2 separate regions of the Homo sapiens genome follow, and region 2 is linked to region 1. Evidence: promoter capture Hi-C in 16 types of primary human blood cells and fetal thymus (Javierre and others, 2016). All regions are on one chromosome and are shown on one strand. Each heading gives the region's core, a stretch centred on a gene start or on the middle of the fragment in contact. The rest is flanking DNA. Distances are from core to core; before and after follow the strand shown. Region 1 holds the start of PPP1CC (protein phosphatase 1 catalytic subunit gamma). Region 2 holds the start of FAM222A (family with sequence similarity 222 member A).

Region 1 (4,896 bases), core at 1,213-3,712:
ATTATTAAATTTAATTTTTTTAAATAAAAAATTGTAAAACAGAATTTATTACCAACATCATTTAACTTAGATATCTACATATCCTCAATGGATCATCTTCAACTGTTTCTCTGCCAATTTAACACCCACGAGAAAAAAAGAAATTTAAGTATACTTTGCAGTTAGCCTATTCCCAAGGCATTAAAATGCACTGCTTTATTAATTTCAGCAAAAAATGAAATATAAGAAAACCTGGTTTTCAAGTGCCACATAACAAGAGGAACTATTAAGAAACAATGATCTCATTTTAGATGTATCATTACTTACCAGGCAAAGTACTTATTACAATTTTAAAGATCAAAATTAACAAAAGCTGTTTATGAATAGAGGCAGTTATGGGCAAACCAGAACTTAAATTAGCAAGCCTTAGATGATCTTAAAATTCTAATGTTTCTAATCCATGCAAATTCCAACTTTTCCTGTTTCCTCAGAGAAATAAAGCCACACATATCCCTGCAGAGATAAGCAGAATTTTAAAATTTAGAAAGAAAATATTTAACAAAAAGTTCCTTTCTTACAGCAAACTATTTTAATCAGTTTCTGACCAACTGCTGCCTCGAATAAATTAAAGAACTATATTAACTAGTATGAAAAAGTATGGTTCTTATATAAATACCTGGCATTAAAAGAATGACAAGGTTTTCACCTACAATACAAGGTTTTCACCTGCAATAACATTTCAAGAGCATTTCAGGGGTCCTTAATGACATTTAGTGTTTTTTTTGTTGTTTTTTTTTTAAAGACAGCATAAAAGGAAAGAATGCACAGATTAAGAAAAGGACGAGATATTTTCAGGAGCTTCATTTTAATAACTTACTTTAAAAGATCTGTAAATTCTAACACCAGAGCTGTCCAACTGTTCATGCCCTCGACTCCACCACTCACAGCATTTATAGTCCAACAATATTTTAGGACTGTATAAAGGCAAAAAGCAGTTGAAACTGCCAAGTTCCCATTATGAAGTGTCCAAGTTAGGGGATATGACTGAATTCTTACAAAGTCTTGGATAAGATGTTAGCATCCGTTGACATGCCCTTGAATCTGAAAGCAGCTCATTTCAGCTTCCGTCTTTAAAAGCTGAACCTCGCCCCTCTCCCACATCAACATGAATCAATTGCCAGGCACCTCACAAGTCTTAGATGAGCCGAAATTTAAAGCTTTCTATTAACCTTTACTTAACCACTGGCCACCTTCCTTCCTACATAAGGTGACAGTGTTGTCTGTAGAGGGTTCTAGCTCCCGGCTATGTGGATTTGAAATCCAACTGTCACTAACTGTGTGACCTTGGTTAAGTGACTTCATCTCAGTTTCTTCTGTAAAATAACAAAAACAAAAAAAATTGCAAATATCTTGCAATGGGTGGGAGAATTAAATGAAATCTGTCTTAAGTGCTCAAAGAATGCCTGACACACAGTAAGCGCTTTAGAAGCGTCAGTTATGATTACAGTAATAATTCATGGACGCAAAGTGCTTAAGACAGAGCCTGGCACATTGGAAAGATAATGATAGCGTCAGCCTCGTTGGCTTCCTCTTCAGATGCACGCTCAGGAAAAGAGCGCGGAGACCTCTCCAAGATTAGAACAACTTAAAAGGATTTGGAGGGCAGGCGAAGACAGGTTCTCACACCTCTTGAGACATGAACGCTTGTTACCAAGTAACAAGAAATGGGCCCCCCAAGACCCCAGAACCACGAAAAATAAAAATAAAAGCAAGCAGGAAAAGAGCCCCCAAACCCGGCGGAACTCATGCCCTCATCAAACTGCCTTCCGAGAGGACGAGCACCGAAAAGTCCATCTCGCACAGCACGGCACACGTCGTCCAGGAGGCTGGACTGGGATCCCCAACCATCGCTCCAAAGACCCGTCCAGTGCGCGGGGGCAAACGGGTAGGGGCGGGAAACGTGGGGGTGGGGAGCGGAGTTTTCAAATTCCACGGCCGGGAGGAAGCCTGCATCCTCGTGCAATGAATGAGCGGAGCCTGGAGGGTCCGCAGCTGGCGACAAGTTGGGAATCCCGGGCTGGCCTCCCTCCGGCTGCAGTCCCCGGCCCGTGGGCCAACTCGAGGAGCTCACTCCCCACGGTGCTGCAAGCCCAACCGGCCTCCCAACTCCCCTCCCTCGAGCCCCCGGGGCCGCCTGCCGCCCTCAGGCCCGCCTCCCCCTTCAGCCGCCCGCCGCCCCCCTTACCTTCCAGCAGCCGTTGGATAATGCTGTCGATGTTGAGTTTATCTAAATCCGCCATCGCCTTCCCACCGCCGACCCTCCCGCAGCGGCGCCGCCGCCGGCTCGCGCCCGGGACTCACACCTCCTTTCCCACGCCACGAGCAGAGGCGGTGGTGGCGGCGGTGGCAGCAGCCGCGGCGGGTCCCCCCCCTGCCACCCCGCTCCCTACTTCCTCCTTCTCTCCCCACTGGAACCACGAGAAGAACAAAATGGCCGCCGACTCCTTAGACAGCCTCGGGCGGCGCACGGATGCGCGCGGGGAGTGCAGCGGCCCGGCCGGGACTTCTTTATGGGCCATAGGGGGCGCGGGAGGGGGCGGGGCCCGGGCGCTGGAGGGGGCGGGGCCCGGGCGCTGGGCGGGGCGCAGATGGCTGAGCGCAACCGCGTCCCCGCATGGGATCCTTCCGCCAAACGGGCCGAGTAAATAGGCCCGCCCCCAATGCCGGGCCCGAGCGAGAGTTGCAAAGTTGCACGCGGGAGTTGGGGCTGGGGGAGGAAATGCAGCTGTGCACACCGCCGGTTGCGGCCATCGCCGGATCTTGTGCATTGAGTCTAGATGTTTGCAGACCTGGACAGGTGGGAGCTCACCGAGGGATTTCGGGGGTCCTGGAACTTACCCTTTAAGATAAATCTGGGGTGAGGATGGAAAAGAATAATAAAGAAAAGAAGGTTGACTTATTTTGGATTCAGATATACTGGAACTTGGGACAAGAGAAAGGTTTATTTGGTAACTAAAAAGAAAAAACCCTCTTTCAGATAAGTCAAAATGTAACAGTTAACTCATTGTGAGTGGTGGGTATATGGGTATTTGTATATATATTTTTTGTGCACTTCTGTAACTTTAGGGGTAAAAAATCCATACTCAAAGAAAATTTTATCATTTCTGTCCCTTGGATTTATCTTCCCTGAACTCGGAAAGTTATGTAATCATCGGGACGGTTATCCCGATTCTAGCCAGGGCAAAGTTGAACGAGCGCGTGCAGCAGTTAAAAGGGGAATTTGCAGATTTCACGCGTGCAGGCCGGGGGCGGGAAGAGAAGATGCAAGCTGCGCGGGCGGTCCTGGGTTCTGCAGACACCCGAAGAAACTTTGGCCCATTCCTCTCTGGCTTCCCAGCCTCCCCGAGGGCACTCCTATCCAAGGGGCCCCCAAACTGTGCCACCTCCAGGGGCTGCGCGTCGACTTTGGCTGGGTTTGGAAGTACAGCCCACACTCAGCAAACAGATCGGCTCTCTTTCCTGACCTTTCCATGTACGTTGCTTCCTGCAGCGCTTTACATTTTGCAAAGCCCCCTCTCTCCGAGAAATTCATTTTGTTTCCCAAGGCGTGCAGGATGCACGAATCCCCATCTCAGTATGCCACGAGGTAATTGCACCACCCAGGCATCCTCTTCCAAAGCAATGTCCTCAGGGTGCGGGCTCCATGTCCCCTTACTTGGGCCCCCTCGCTACTGGTGCAGGGCCCTTGAGTTTCAGAACTCAGCCTATCGATCCACTTTCCTCAGGCACTAACTCACTTTCCCCTGCTACAGCTCTGTCCACCAGAAGTCACATAAGTGCCATTTGTCAGGCCAAGGCAATGAGCCCAGTTGGTGACATTCGGAGTTGGTGCCCAGCGCTGCTGTGAACATCTGGCTATGGAGGTCAGGGGGGGCTCTTGCTGGAGTCCACAGGACTTTGGGCTACTCCAGGGCAGGGTGCATCATCGGAATGGCATTTAGGGTAGAAATATGAAAGACAGCAATTCATTCAGCAGACAAATATTTATGGAGTACCCACTCTGTGCCAGGCATTGTTCTAGACAGGGAAGCAGGGGTGATCAAGACAGACAAGGCTTTTTTCTATGGAGAGTCATTTAGTCAGTCAGATGGTAAGCAAAGATGCAAATAAAAATATCAGCTTCTGATAAGTGCAGTGGAGAAAAATAAACAAGAAAAAAAATGCTACTGTGTTCATTTCTTAGTATGTGCCAAAAAATGATCTCATTGAATCCCCAAGATAATCCTAGGAATTATGTCCTATTCCTATCATCCCCATTTACAGATGAAGAAAGTGAGGCACAGAGAGGCTAGGGTGGTTGCTGAAGGTCACACAGCCAGGAAGTTACAGAGTCAGGGCTGGAACTCAGGACAGCCTGAAACCACAGCCCTCGTTCATATTCAGTAAAACCCGGCAGTGAACCCCCAGCAGTGTTCACATCCCTGGCACATACTGGGCACATATCAATTTGGAACCCAGTGGAATGACTGAATTGTGTCTCTGCCCACAATACGAGTGCCATAATTTTCCTCATGCAAAATGGCAGGTGTGTTAACCTCTTGCAACATCATCAGGGCTGGAGGAGGACTTCAGACTGAGCTGGGACATGGGGAGAGCCTCTGTCCCCAGGTTGTTTTCTGCTGGGCAACTCCCCTCCAGAGTTCAGTTCTGCTGGCACATGCCTAAGTGATTAGCTGGCTCTGAGCCTGAGCATGGCATAGCTCACCAGGGTGGGCCCTCACAGCTCCCAGGAACCAGCAAATAGCCGGTGGAGGAAAGCACTGATTCCCTATTCGCCTTTTTCTGCCATTATCAGCACCAGTGGCTTTCCAAAGATGAGTTGATATAAGCATCCTGTCAGAAAGGATACAGCCTAAT
Region 2 (4,896 bases), core at 1,472-3,971, 1.0 Mb before region 1:
GGCAAACAAGAACAGTGAGAGATGAGATGCCCTCTGCCCCCTGCCCCCTCAGGGCCTGTCGGACCCCTGGCCAGAGCCAGTGTTCCGGGGCTGGCCTGCCTGGTGGTTTTATGGACCGTGGCAAATCCATCTTGACACTGTCTCCAATCACATAATGCAGTTATTGGAGTCGACCAAGAGCAAAGGCACGAGGGTCTGATCTCAGGGAGATGGGCATATGGGGTAGGGGGGCACTGGGAGTGTGGGGAGTGGGGCAGAGCATCTTACGGGGCATTCACCTGCCTGGAGGGGAGCGACAGGCATCTGGAAGGCTCTGACCTCTCCTGCTGGACAGCTGCCTTGGAGCCTGCTGCTGTCGGAAATTCCACCATGAGCACATCGTGGACTCATAGAACTTCAGAGATGGAGGGGTCTTTTGAGATCTTCTCGACCTGGGGTTGTCAGCCCTGGCTGTATCAGGAACCACATAGGAGCTTTGGAAACTGCTGTCCCACCAAGGAGAGTCTGATTGGTAGGGCTGGGGTTTGGGTCCTACCCTCCATTTCATGGCAGGGGAAACTGAGGTCCAGAGAAGAGAAGAAACTCCCCTCAAGGTTGCACACGGTCAGACAGTGGCTGCCACAAGGTGCAATAAATCAACGTCAGGGCTCTGGACTTTGGTTCTGTCATTTGTGTGACCTTGGGTAAGTCATGTGGCCTTCCTCTGCTGTAGGATGTGCATAGTGATCGTATATACCTTATAGGGTTTCTGCGAGGGTAAAAGGAGTTATGTGAGATAAATAGCAGTGAGCCCATGCCTGACACACAGTAGGTGTGAAGTCATGGTGACCTACAATGAAAAAAATCCCAAACTTTTGACAGGCTGTGGTGCGAACTGCTGCCTTCTTCTCCTCTTCGCGATCTCTCTCATTTCCCAGGGTTTGCTTGTTACTGTCCCTCGCCCTGTCCTCAGCTGAAGTCTGGTCTCCCCACCTGTCCACACGCTGGGTCCACCCATCCAGTCGCCCCGGCCGCCCTCCCTGACGTCCCCGCAGCCCTGGCTGCTGGCCCGAGCGGGAAGCAGCTGGAGGCATAACACATTTCCAGGTAAATCCCCACCCCCACCTTCAGCCTGGGGAGGGAAGGGGAGGAGATGGGGGCGGCCGCGGAGAAATAGAGCGGAGCTGCTGGGAACAGCGCGCCGAGCAGCCGCTTAGAGGCCTGAAACAGGGCCAGCTCCTGTCCTAGATAAGGCGGCGGGTGACCCACTTGGGCCGGCCCTGGAGGTCCGCCGCGGGCGCCTCTCCCGGCGGGGTGGGTTGGCTCCTGGAAGTAGGCTAGGGCCCGTCTATAATCAGCCCGTCCGCTGGATACGCTCCCCAGGGTCTCCAAAGCCCTCCAGCCCGGGTGAGTACAGAGGGCATTTATTGAGCACTTAATGTGTGTTTTGAGTCCTTTACATGCAAGAATTCATTTTGCCCTCAAATCTACGCTGTAAGGTAGGAATTATGATGCCCCCCATTTCACAGACAAGAAACTGAGGCGCAGACCCGTGAAGGTAAATGGCCAAGACCAACAACCAGCAAGGGCAGGGCTGCAATCCCACCCAGTTTCGGTGGGACTCCAGGTATCACACGGGCATAGCCTGAGGGGTGGGGGGTCTGACTGCTGCTCTGCATTTCTGTGGGGATCTTTGTTATTATCCCGGAAAGCTGGCTTCCTACAGTGCTGTGTGATGGACACACAGCAACTGAGGGAACTGCCCCACCCAGGACTCAATTTCCCCATCTGTAAATGAGACTGCTAGACGGGCCGCCCATGGGCTGTGAGAACCCAGGAAGCTTCTTTAAAAGTAAAAGGGAAAGCACAGTATAGTTTGATAGATTCATATTTGAACCCCAGGTTGATGTGAAACTATGCCTCAGTTTCCCTATCTATTAAGTGGGGGAGTAGGCTAGTGCCTGTCTCCTGTGGGCGTGGGGTACGTCTAGAAGGTGTAGCTTGCAAATTGCTCAGCGCTGTGCTGGGTTATATAGTTAGCGCTCCACAGATCACAACTGTGATGCCAAAAACACATCGCTGCCAAAAATAAGCCTTAGGACAAAAACATCCAGGACCATGTCACTTCACATCTCCTTACCTCAGTTTCCTCTGTAAGTTGGAAGTATAATAATAGTACCTACCGTATCAGTTTTCTCATCTGTAAAATGGGGGTGATAGTAATACCCACTCACACGGTGTTGTGAGGATTAGATAAAATACTTTGCTACATAAGTGTTAGCTATAGTTGTTATTTTTAACAAATTCCTCATGAGGTTGGTTTTTGCCAAGATTAAATGAAATAATGCCGATAATGCACTTATACAGTGCCTTGTCCCAAATATGTGATCAGTAAATGACACTGGTTTTGCCACCCCTAGTGGGACTACAAAAACCAGCACGCCCTGCGCCCCCAGTCGGGGCCCCTCCACCCGGCGCCGGCGCGCAGCATGCCGGGAGTTGCAGTCCTCGCGAGGCAAGTTCCGCCTCGTCCCTGCTTGGGGGAGGAGGTTGGAGAGCCGCCCTGCCGGCCTTTGAATTTTGCCGCGAAAAGCGCGCGTGGCGGCCCCCGGCTCCGCCCCTCGCAGGACGCGGTGCCGCGTCACCCTGGTAACCGCCTCTCAGCCGCCGCTGATTGGGCTGGGCCGCGGGGGGCGGGCGGGGGACGAGACGCGGGGGCTGCTGCCGGCGCTCGCGCCTGTCAGTCGGGCCAGAGCGGAGCAGCGGGCAGGACTGCCTGGCCGGCTGCTCCGCGGAGAGGCTGCGCGCGCCGGCCGGGGGAGGCGGACAGCCGGGCCCGGCGCCTGTGGGGCGCGGCGCGCGGCACCCGGGCCTGAGACCAGGCGAGGCGCCGGCGCGCGCCAGACGGCGCGAGGCTGCGGCCCCGGGAGCCCCCGCGCGCCGCCCGGGGCCATGGGCGCGTGAGAGCCCAGCGCGCGCGGCCCCTGCTGCGGCTTGCGAGCTCGCACACCCGGTGCACAGTCCCCCGGGCCGTCCTCGTGTCCGTCCTGCGCCACTGGGATCGGCTGTTTCTCAGCGCCGAGGCCCCCGAGGCTGCATCCGAGCTTGCGTCGCCCGCTGCCGCCGCCGCCGCCGCTGCCGCCGCCGCTGTTCGCCGGCTTCCCCTCCCCCCACACCCGGGGCTCAGAGCAGGAGGAGGAGGGGCCGGTGCATTCTCGCCGCTGTTCTTTGCAACCTGCAGGGGCCGGTGTATGTCCGGCGAGGAGCCGGGGCCGCTGCGGGTGCGTGCAACCCCCGAAGGAGACAATCCCTCCACCTCGGGGCGAACCCGGGGGCTGCAAGCCGCGGGCGGGCGGGCGAGCGAGAGGAAGCAACAAAGACAGGCTGCAGCTGGGGCTGGCGAAAGGGGCCGCGGCCGCCGGGCTCCCAGCGCGGGCGGAGAGGGCGCCCTGGGAGCGGCGCGGGCCGAGCTGCAGCCTTGAGCGGGGCCCCGAGGGGAGGCGCAGCGCCGCCCGCCGGACGTGGCGATCACGGGCCCCGGCGAAGATGCGTCGCCTGAGCGCCCGCGCGGCCCCCGTCCGGGGCGGGCGTGACCCCTGCTGAACGGAGACCTCCCCTCCCCCCCGACTTCGGACGGCGCAGGCCGGCGCCAGGATAGCCCTCACCGACAGCGCCCCTTCCCACCCGGAGAGAGGCATCGACCCCCAAGGAGGGCTTCGTCAGGCAGCCTCTGCCACTCCTGCATGGCTGCGACCCGTCGAGCGGAGCGTCGTGGTAGCTGAGACCTGGTGCCCTTCGACGGCCTGGCTGATCCGGTGAGTTGTGCGGGGCGGGGTTCTGCGCTGGAGCTGGGGGCACCCCCTGGCGTCCGGGCAGCCAGGATTGGACAGAAGGGGTCCTAGGCTGTTGGGGGTCCTGAAGCAGAGATAACCCTTGTCCGCCCCTTTCCTCCCTCCAAACACAACTTGTTCAGATGGGCCAGCCGATGGGAGTGGAGGTTGGGGGGCCCATTCGGATTCCGCGGGACCCTGGGCGGGTTGGTTGCCAGAGAGGAAAGGTCACCCCACCCGTAAAGCTAACAAAGGTATTGGCTGTGTCATCCGAAAATTCCCCGGGAACTCCAGTGTCTTGGAAGGGCTGGGGGGTGGGGGGCACCCAGGATGGGAAAACGTTGAGGGTCTCCCGAGCAGCCTCTGAGATCTTCAAGGGAAATCACCTCAGAGGGGGATTTGGGGTTCCAGAAACGCAGGTGGCCACGTTTGAGAATTGTGCCCCATGGGGCTAGACCTTAGAGCCCTCGTTCAAACCACGTTCCCACAAATAACTCGCAGGGACGGTAGGTTCCCCAGTGGGGGCACGACATGACGTCAAACCTTAGCCTCTGATGTCACTGGGGTTGCCGTGGCAACACCACTTGCCTTGACCCAAGGCCGGAGGGGGCGGGGTCGTGGTAACAAGGGGCGGGGCTGGATGCCTTTGGGTAGTGGAGGGGTGAAGGCGGACTCCCCCCACCCCTACCATTGCAGTCCTCTGACCTAAATCCTTAGCGCCCCATAAGGTGGGGGAGGGAGGCAGTGCCAGCTGTCCCTGTTGATGCTCCTCCCCGCAAGGACAGGTGTTCAGAGCTTTGCCCATGTAGCCTGGCCTGTGCCTCGGGGCTCAGGCCTCCCAGACAGAGCAACTTTCTGTTTTGAAAAGAGATGCTATAGAAGAGACCTCCCTGAACCCCACCATGTACCCAGCTGGCAGGCTGAAGTTCCCAGGGTCCCCAGAGAGATGTGGGCCTCCGGCCCTCCAATAGGCTACTTCTGCTGGGGAAAATGTGGGTGCCCCTCCCCCAGCCAAGGAAGGTGCAGAGGAGCTGCTGCCTGCTGCACCCCTAGTCCAGGGGCTCCCCATGCTGTTCTACCCCAAGGT

What was found. The method cuts DNA at HindIII sites, captures the fragments that hold promoters and counts their contacts. A CHiCAGO score of 5 or more calls a contact.
Region 2: the fragment with the promoter of FAM222A here is called in contact with the fragment with the promoter of PPP1CC in region 1 in 1 of 17 cell types (fetal thymus); the score reaches 5.1 in fetal thymus.

The regions. Positions count from the first base shown.
Region 1 is chr12:110,740,429-110,745,324 of GRCh38, forward strand. PPP1CC (protein phosphatase 1 catalytic subunit gamma) reads right to left here and starts at 2,463. Exons shown (of 7, transcript NM_002710.4): 1 at 2,225-2,463. The coding sequence starts at 2,279. RefSeq lists enhancers at 2,188-2,696, 3,458-4,042 and silencers at 2,334-2,393, 2,554-2,693. The HindIII fragment of the contact is 5,862 bases long and covers 1,195-4,896 here.
Region 2 is chr12:109,711,104-109,715,999 of GRCh38, forward strand. FAM222A (family with sequence similarity 222 member A) reads left to right here and starts at 2,722. Exons shown (of 3, transcript NM_032829.3): 1 at 2,722-3,794. RefSeq lists an enhancer at 1,184-1,747 and silencers at 2,453-2,782, 2,813-2,862. The HindIII fragment of the contact is 3,633 bases long and covers 1,819-4,896 here.